Linked DNA regions of Homo sapiens: region 1 is linked to region 2. The links are contacts of gene promoters, found by promoter capture Hi-C in blood cells and fetal thymus (Javierre and others, 2016). All regions are on one chromosome and are shown on one strand. The core of a region is centred on a gene start or on the middle of the fragment in contact, and the rest is flanking DNA. Distances in the headings are between cores, read along the strand shown.

Region 1 (4,781 bases), core at 1,674-4,173, 370 kb after region 2:
ATGAGCAACTCAGGTCAGTAAGAGTCATCACCACCTACACTTTCTGCTACTTCCTTGTGGAACAGGCTGCAGCCCTGGTTCAGTGGGACTTGGTGGCCCAGACTGGCCCTCAGATATGTCCCCCTCCCATCCACAGGAATCCCCATCTCGCCTCTCCTCAGAGACCCAGGAGAGCTACTGGAAGGATAGGGAGGAAAGAGGACCCTCCTTAGCCTGGCAGAGAGACTAGCCCAGGAAAAGTCTGCGGAGGAAAGCCCTTTCTCCACTTTCCAGAACGGAGACCACCCCCAGATGTGGCCCCAGCCCAGTTCTGGCCCCCAAACTCCCCAATCCCCGGTTCTGTTATCCACTGGGCTATTTTGGGTCAGAATGCTAGGTTTTTACCAGAGAGATGGTCTTGTGTGAAAAACAGCACAGGACTTTTTTTGGAGGTCTCCCCTGGGGTGAATCTCAGGCCTACCATTTATGGGCAGTGTTACCCTGGGCAAATTCTTTAACATGGGAGTCTTAGTTTCCTAATCTAAAAAGTGGGATGACTGCTAGTAGCACCCTTTTTGGAAGTTGTTGTGATGAGGCCTGAGTGAGAGGATGTGTGGCACAGCAATCAGTAAGCTGTAAAGTGCTCACAGAGGTTATGAGAGGTGACCTACCCCTGCCCTGGAGCCCCACCTGGCCAGAACAGCAGGTAGAGAGAAAGGGGGAACCAAGGCTCTGGACTGGCCCTGATCCCAGCAGACAGTTCAGTCCGGGGAAGAAAGAGGAGGAGCCCTGGCCTCCGCTTTGCCTTTATCTATGGAAGTAAACAAGGTTTGGCTACCAGATTCTAAGCAGGGAGAGCCCTGTCTGGCTCATGCGCATGCACACACACCTGCCTGGACAGCTGACATCCCTTCCCTACTAGGTATACATACCAACAGGCTGACTCACCCCACAACCCTCCTCATCCCCCACCCCAGAGCCTCTAGGCTTCTGTGCCTACAACATCACTTCTCTCCCTTTGGATCAACCGCAGACTGGGCTTGTTTTCTAGTCTCGGATCTGGCAGTCTTCCTGGACCACCAAAAGGCCAATGCATTCCTAGGGGGTAGAGAGATGCTAAGCAGTCCCAAGTCCAGCCAGTGGAGGAGACTATGGCCAGGCTCACCTGACAGGGCATCGGTGTGCCCAGACCAGTGCTTGGCCAAGGTGCCTTTCTAGTCACCAGACCATCCAGACAGCTCACTCCTTCAATCAGCCTATCAGTGCCAGAGGTCAGGAGTCCTGGGGACTTCCTCTCCCCTCCAGTACACACAGCCCAGAGCCAAAGGCCTCCCTGTGAGCACCAGCCCATCACCTCTGAACATCCTGAGTTCAGGAGCCAGAGCCTGGGCCCTGCCCTCCCTACTCATGTCCCCTTTCATTTGTTTACTGTTTGTACTGCCTACTACCGATGTGAAGGCGATCTGGCTGTGACATCTGTCACCCCATTGATCACCAGGCTTGATTCGGCTGTACTGCCTACTTCTAAGGAGGGCTTCAGGTAGAAATAATCCCAGCACTTTGGGAGGCCAAGGTGGGTGGATCACCTGAGTTCAGAAGTTCAAGACCAGCCTGGCCAACATAGTGAAACCCCGTCTGTACCAAAAAAAAAAAAAAAAAAAAAAAAAAAAAAATTAGCCGGGTCTGGTAGCGGGTGCCTGTAGTTCCAGCTACTCCGGAGGCTGAGACAGAAGAATCACTTGAACGTGGAAGACGGAGGTTGCAGTGAGCAACCAGAGATTGCGCCATTGCACTCCAGCCTGGGCGACAAGAGCGAGACTCCGTCGCAAAAAAAAAGAAAGAAAAAGAAAAAAAAAAGTGAACTCTCCTTAACTCCTCTCTGATGTTCGTCTCCCCTAGGACCCCATAACCAGTCCCTTTTTTGAGTCTCTCCAAACCCATCCATCTTGGCACCCTCCTCACCTCCAAAGCCCTGGGTCCGCAGCTGGCGGTAGGAGCGGTACACTTCCCTCGTGAGGTAGTTGATGAAGCCCTCCCTGGGCGCGAACTTGCACACGAAGTTCTGCTCGTAGAGGCAGTTGATGAGGAAGCAGGCGGCGATGGCGTCCTCCCCGCGGTCGGGCTGCAGCTCCACTAGCGCCAAGTTGCAGTTCTGGGTGGTGCAGCAGGCGCGCACGCAGTCCCAGCCCCGGCGCACGGTGGGGGACTCCAGGAAGGTAGCTCCGTTGCTGACCGAGGCGTTGGTGTCCAGCACGAAGCCAGGCACCCCGGCGGTAAAGCTGTTCAGGCAGTCGGCTCCCGCGGGCAGCCCAGGGGGCGCGGGCGGTGGCCCGGCCTGGGTGCCCTGGAGGCCGAGCGTGCACAGAAGCCACAAGGCGACGGCAGGGATGCCGGCCGGGGCGAGGCGGGCGCGGGCCATCGTCCTCGCAGGGGCCATCGCCTTCCTCCCCAGGGGGGTCACCTTCAGAGCGCGGGCCTCTGGGTTCCGAGGGTGCTGGTGACCTGAGAAGAAGGGAGGGGACAGAGGAGGAGACACACCTGATCAGCCCGGGAGACTTTGGAGGAGGCGGGCCGGCCGGGAGGAAGTGGCGGGGAGGAGGGACCGGAGCACCCCAGGATCGAAGAGGGCGCACGGGCCCGGCCCTCCCACGCGCCCTCCAGGGACCCGGCAGCCAGACAGACGGACAGGCGGACCGCTAGGGAGCTCAAGTACCCGGACACACGCACGAGCGCAGAACAAAGGGCCGGACATGCTCCAGCCCGCTCCGCCTGCGCCTCGGCCTTGCGCGCGGGGGCCCGGGTTACCTGCGCAGGTGAGTTGGGTGGGGCCGGGTCCGCCGAGGTTCCGGTCCCAGCTTCCTGCGCGGCTCGGGTCGCGGCTTCCGACCCGGTGCTCGGAGAGCTGGGGCTCGGCCGCCTTCTCCCCCTGGTTTCTGGTGAAACTGAGTCAGCGCCGTCGGGGCGGGGCCGACATTCACCCTTGCGCTGCCGGCCCCGCCCACGCCCGGTGCGCTGCGGCCGCCTCTAGCGCGGAGCTCCAGGCCCGGCCCGCCCCGCGGCCCCGCAGCCCCGGTGCCTCCCCGGCAGCCAGCTCCCCGGAGGGGCTCTCGGGCTCCACCCAGTCCAGCCTCGCGAGGGAGCCCCGCGCCCGAAGCGCATACCCAGCCGGGAGGGGATGCGGCCGGGACGCGAGGGTCCGGCCTCTGGGGCGGCGGCCTCCAGTCTTCCTTTCCGGCCGGGGCCTGCTTTCCCAGCCCCAGACCTGAGGCCCGATGCAAATGATCTTTCCGGCCCTCAGGAAATCATTTCCATTTCGTGGCGGGAAGGTAACCCAAAAGTTGCGTGGCTGCACCTGTGATAACAGGGATCCGGGATGTCTGCCTCACTGTCAGCTCCGGGAAGCCCTCCCTGCTGTCAGGGTGAGAAACGGAGGCGATTCCCCGCGTCCAGGCTCCCCTGCGTGCTCCACGGGGCTTCCCTGTTGTTCGAGGCCCCTCCTCATCTTGTATGTACAGTTCGGTCCATTCCCTGCTATGGCTCATTGGACTGTTGCCCCCTTCCCTGGAGCCCAGGCTTCCTCTCTTTCACAAAGGGGACGCTGCTGGCTACTTTCTTCCAGGGAAATGTCATCCTTGGAAGCCTGGAGGTTCCAGTTCACCAAGTAGCTGAGTTAATGCCCTTCACGAAACAGTGGACTCCTTGAAGCCAAGCTCATTGCTCCTCCTGAGTAAAAAACTCTTAAGAGACCATTCTCTACGGCAAGGGTCTGAACAGGTGAAAGACAGATGAAGGCAGGGCTGGAGGAAGGAATCACATAGCATGCTCTCTTAAAATACAGATTCCAAACCTTTTCCTGATGGCTTAACAACCCCCAAACCAATGGGAACATTCTTCCCAGTTTCTCATCCAGAGCAGCTTTGCCTAGCAGATCCTGTGGCCAACCCTTGGATTTTGCTGAACTGCAACATCCTCCAGCTGCTCACATGATGCGTGTTGGGGTGGGAATCTGGGGCCTGTCTCCCCTTCTCTGGATGTTTAGGGTTTATCCACAGACCCTGGCACACTGGTGGATATACAACAATGGTGGTATGCTGGGAATGAAGAAAATGATTGTGCAGTCACTGGGAAGAAAGGGTTTTGTTGTGATTTGATTTCCCCTTATGGCTAACACATTCAAGAATCTTTATTTATTTATTTATTTATTTTTTTTTTTTTTTTTTTGAGACGGAGTCTTGCTCTGTCACCCAGGCTGGAGTGCAATGGCACGATCTCGGCTCACTGCAACCTCTGCCTTCCAGATTCAGGAAATTCTGCCTCAGCCTCCCAAGTAGCTGGGCTTACAGGTGGGCACCACCACGCCGAGCTAATTTTTGTATTTTTAGTAGAAACGAGGTTTCACCTTTTTGGCCAGGCTGGTCTTGAACTCCTGACCTCAGGTGATCCACCCACCTCGGCCTCCCAAAGTGCTAGGATTATAGGCGTGAGCCACTGTGCCTGACCTCAAGAATCTTAATACAGGAAAATATTACCTTATGGTAATATTACATCACCATAAATTTATCATTACATCCATTATACACACCATTATAAAAACCAACATGAATTCAGCACTGACAATGCCCAAACTCTGTTCCTAAGCACTGCCCACATATTACCCTATACTCAAAACAAACCTAGGGAGGTAGTATTTTTAGCCCCATTTTACAAATGAGCAAACAGGCTCAGACAGGTAAACTGACTTGTCAGGTCATTCAGCATTGAAGCGGCAGAGTAGGGATTGGAGCCCAGGCAGGCCAATTCCA
Region 2 (4,405 bases), core at 789-3,288:
ATCAAGATTCTCTATGGAATCCTAAGCTGAGCCATTGCTTCTGGGTTCTGAATTAAGATAAAATATTGTGATTCATTTGTTTATTTAATAACTGAGTACATACTGTGTGTGTACTCATAATTATTGGGGTACACTTATTCATTGGGGATTCTGAAATATGGTATCCCTCCCCTTACTGAGCAGCAAACAGATGCTAAATTAGATAAATAAGTAAAATATATACTGTAATAGTGCCAAATGCTAAGGAGGAAAAAAAAGGAAGAGAAGTAGTACGTAGGGAGGGTGGTTTTGCAATTTTAGGGTATTTGAGTTGCAATACAGTAGGAATATATGAGTGTGGCCAAAATTATTGAGAAAGCTATTCTGTTGCTGAGGAAGAGAAATATATCTAATGCAATCCTTGTCTTGTAGAGGAAGAGGAGGTGACATACACAGTCATTAATCAATTCCAGCAGAAGTTTGGTGCTGCGGTAAGTATTGTCCTCAATCATTACTAGTATTGCCTGTATGTAGGTATCATGTCTGTGTGTCATAAATTTCTTTCTTTCTTTTTTTTTTTGAGACGGAGTCTTGCTCTATCGCCCAGGTTGGAGTGCAGTGGACCAATCTTGGCTCACTGCAAGCTCCGCCTCCCAGGTTCACACCCTTCTCCTGCCTCAGCCTCCCGTGTAGCTGGGACTACAGGTGCCCGCCACCACGCCTGGCTAATTTTTTGTATTTTTAGTAAAGACAGTGTTTCACCGTGTTAGCCAGGATGGTCTCGATCTCCTGACCTCGTGATCCACCCGCCTCGGCCTCCCAAAGTGCTGGGATTACAGGCATGAGCCACCACGCTCGGCTGTAAATTTCTTTATTATAAGATTTTTGATTTTTTTTCCTATTAATTCAACAACATATTTGGTGGCTGCTATATGCCTATATGCCAGGCACTGTTCTGAGCTCTTGGGTAAAACCATAATCAAGACAAAGTTCCCGCCCTCAAGGAGCTTATATTCTAATGCAAGACAATAAACAAGTGCTTTTATTTTAGATGGCAGTAAGTGCTGGGAATAAAAATAAAGCATGGTATGGGGACTAGAGTGACAAGGAGGTCCTATTTTATGTGGGATAGACAGAGAAAACATCTCTAGGGAGGTGACATTAGAACAAAGACCTGAGTAAGTAAGGGAGCCATGTAGATATCAAAGTGGAGAACTTAAAGGCTGGGTGCAGTGGCTCACGCCTGTAATCCCAGCACTTTGGGAGGCTGAGGCGGGTGGATCACGAGGTCAGGAGATTGAGACCATCCTGGCTAACACGGTGAAAACCCGTCTCTACTAAAAATACAAAAAAATAGCCGGGCATGCTGGCAGGCGCCTGTAGTCCCAGCTACTCACCAGGCTGGGTCAGGAGAATGGTGTGAACTCGGGAGGCGGAGCTTGCAGTGAGCCGAGATCGTGCCACTGCACTCCAGCCTGGGTGACAGAGCGAGACTCCATCTCAAAAAAAAAAAAGTGAAGAACTTAAAAGTGGAATTAGCAAGTGCAAAGGCCCTGAGGCTGAAATATTCCTGGCTTGTGTGGAGGAACAGCAGGGAGGTCAGTGTGACAGGACCACAGTGAAGAAGAATGGTAGGAGATGGAAGGGGGCAGGAGGCAGTTCACTTAGGGCTTTCTAGACATTGTAAAGATTTTGAGTTTGACTTAAAGCCATTGGCAGTTTCAGAGAAGAGTCAGAATTTTTTTTTTTTTTTGAGATGGAGTCTCGCCTTGTGGCCCAGGCTGGAGTTCGGTGGGGTGATCTTGGCTCACCTCAACCTCCGCCTCCTGGGTTCAAGCGATTCTCCTGGCTCAGCCTCCTGAGTAGCTGGTATTACAGGCATGCACCACCACGCCAGCTAATTTTTGTATTTTTAGTAGTAGAGATGGGGTTTTGCCATGTTGGCCAGGCTGGTCTCAAACTCCTGACCTCAGGTGATCTGCCTATCTCCGCCTCCCAAAGTGCTGGGATTACAGGTGTAAGCCACTGTCCCTGGCCCATGGATGCATTTTTAAAAGGACAGTTAGCTATCAAAAGGTTTTTGTTTTGTTTTGTTTTGTTTTTGAGATGGAGTCTCTTTCGCCCAGGCTGGAGTGCAGTGGCACTATCTCGGCTCACTGCAAGCTCCACCTCCCGGGTTCACGCCATTCTCCTGCCTCAGCCTCCCGAGTAGCTGGGACTACAGGCGCCTGCCACTGCACCCGGCTAATTTTTTGTATTTTTAGTAGAGACGGGGTTTCACCGTGTTAGCCAGGATGGTCAACAACAGGTTGTTTTTTAAGTCTGAACTGAACAGAAGATTTTTATTAAAAAATAGCATTATTGAGATATAATCCACATGCCATACAATTTATTTAGTTAAAATGTACAGCTCATTTTCTTTTAGTGTAGTCACAGAGTTGTAAGTAAAGCAACATAATAAATTTTAGAATATTTTCAGTATACCAGAAAGAAACCCCACACCCCTTATCCATCACTCCTAATCACTCCTCAGCCCTTGGCAACCACTAAAACAGCCTGACCAACATGGCAAAACCCCATCTCTACTAAAAATACAAAAATTAGCCAGGTGTGGTGGTGGGCACTTGTAATCCCAGTTACTGGGGAGGCTGAGTGGGAGGAGGTGGAGGGTACAGTGAGCCGAGATCATGCCACTATACTCCAGCCTGGGAAAGAGTGAGACTCTGTCTCAAAAAACAACAAAACAAAACAAAACAAAACAAAAACTGGCTGGACACGGTGGCTCATGCCTGTAATCCCAGCACTTTGCGAGGCCGAGATGGGTGAATCACAAGGTCAGGAGTTTGAGACCAGCCCGACCAACATGGTGAACACCGTCTCTACTAAAAATACAAAAATTAGCTGGGTGTGGTGGTGCGTGTCTGTAATCCCAGCTACTCAGGAGGCTGAGGCAGGAGAATTGCTTGAACCCAGGAGGCAGAGGTTGCAGTGAGCCAAGATCGTGCCACTGCACTCCAGCCTGGGTGACAGAGTGAGACTCTATCTCAAAAAAAATAAAAATAAAAACAAGTAAATAAATAAAATAATAAAATATGTAGTTTTTTTGACAGGCTTTGTTTACTTAGCATAATGTTTTCAAGGTTCATCCACATTACAGCTTATATCAGTATTTCACTTATTTTTATTGCCAAATAATATTCCTTATAAATTAAAAAAAATTTTTTTGAGACGGGGTCTTGCTCTGTCACCCAGGTTGGAGTGCAGTGGCACAATCAGAGTTCACTGCAGCCTGGACCTCCTGGGCTCAAGCAATCCTCCCACCTTAGCCTCCCAAGTAGGTGGGACTACAGGCATGTGCCACAACACCTAGCTAATTCTTTTATATTTTTTGTAGAGACAACGTCTCGTTATGTTGCCTAAGCTGGTCTCAAACTACTGGGCTCAAGCAATCCACCTGCCTCGGCTTCCCAAAGTGCTGGGATTAGAGGTGTAAGCCACCACAGTCAGCCACCAAATCATATTCTATTGTATGGATATACTACATTTTATTTATCCATTCACCATTTGATGGACATTTGGGTTGTTTCTTCTTTGTGGTTATTGTGAATAATGCTACTATGAACATTCATGGACAAGTTTTTGTGTGGATGATTTTATTTCTCTTAGATAGTTACCTAGGAGTGAAATTGCTAGATCATATGGTAACTCTGTGTTTAACTTTTTTGAGGAACGGCCAGACTTTTTTCCAAAGCTGTTGCACTATTTTACATTTCTACCAGCAGTCTGTGAGGGTTCCAATTTCTTTTTTTTTGAGACGGAGTCTTGCTCTGTCGCCCAGGCTGGAGTGCAGTGGCACCATCTCGGCTCACTGCAAGCTCTGCCTCCCGGGTTCACACCATTCTCCTGCCTCAGCCTCCTGAGTAGCTGGGACTACAGGTGCCCGCCACCACGCCCGGCTTATTTTTTTTTTTTACATTTTTAGTAGAGACGGGGTTTCACCGTGTTAGCCAGGGTGTTCTCGATCTCCTTACCTCGTGATCTGCCCGCCTCAGCCTCCCAAAGTGCTGGGACTACAGGCGTGAGCCACTGTGCCCAGCCGTTCCAATTTCTTTAAATCCTTGCCAACACTTATCTGTAATTTTGAGTATAGCCATCCTAGTGGGTATGAAGTGGTATCTTATTGTGGTTTTGATTTGCATTTCTGTGATGGCTAATGATGTTGAATGTTTCCATGAGCTTACTAGCCGTTTGTATAACTTCTTTGGAGAAATGTCTATTTAGATCCTTTGCCTTTTATTTTTTGAGACAGAGTCTCGCTTAGTAGCCCAGGCTGGAGTGCAGTGGCATGATCTTGGCTCACTGCAACCTCCACCTCCTAGGATCTCTAGCAATCCTCCCACCTCAGCCTCCTGAGTAACTTGGACTA

The links. The method cuts DNA at HindIII sites, captures the fragments that hold promoters and counts their contacts. A CHiCAGO score of 5 or more calls a contact.
Region 1: a contact is called between the fragment with the promoter of SPINT1 here and a fragment that was not itself captured in region 2, in 3 of 17 cell types (total CD8 T cells, endothelial precursors and total CD4 T cells). The highest score is 6.2, in total CD8 T cells.

The regions. Positions count from the first base shown.
Region 1 is chr15:40,842,190-40,846,970 of GRCh38, reverse strand. SPINT1 (serine peptidase inhibitor, Kunitz type 1) reads right to left here and starts at 2,923. Exons shown (of 11, transcript NM_003710.4): 1 at 2,785-2,923; 2 at 1,942-2,481. The coding sequence starts at 2,416. It overlaps SPINT1-AS1 (SPINT1 antisense RNA 1), which reads left to right and starts at 2,447. Exons shown (of 2, transcript NR_146468.1): 1 at 2,447-2,792. RefSeq lists silencers at 2,242-2,481, 2,772-2,831, 2,912-3,141, 3,303-3,485 and an enhancer at 2,779-3,350. The HindIII fragment of the contact is 21,246 bases long and covers 1-4,781 here.
Region 2 is chr15:41,211,840-41,216,244 of GRCh38, reverse strand. It overlaps EXD1 (exonuclease 3'-5' domain containing 1), which reads left to right. Exons shown (of 12, transcript NM_001286441.2): 6 at 412-470. Among named protein-coding and RNA genes, the nearest start is that of EXD1, 17 kb to the left of the region's middle. The HindIII fragment of the contact is 6,313 bases long and covers 1-4,405 here.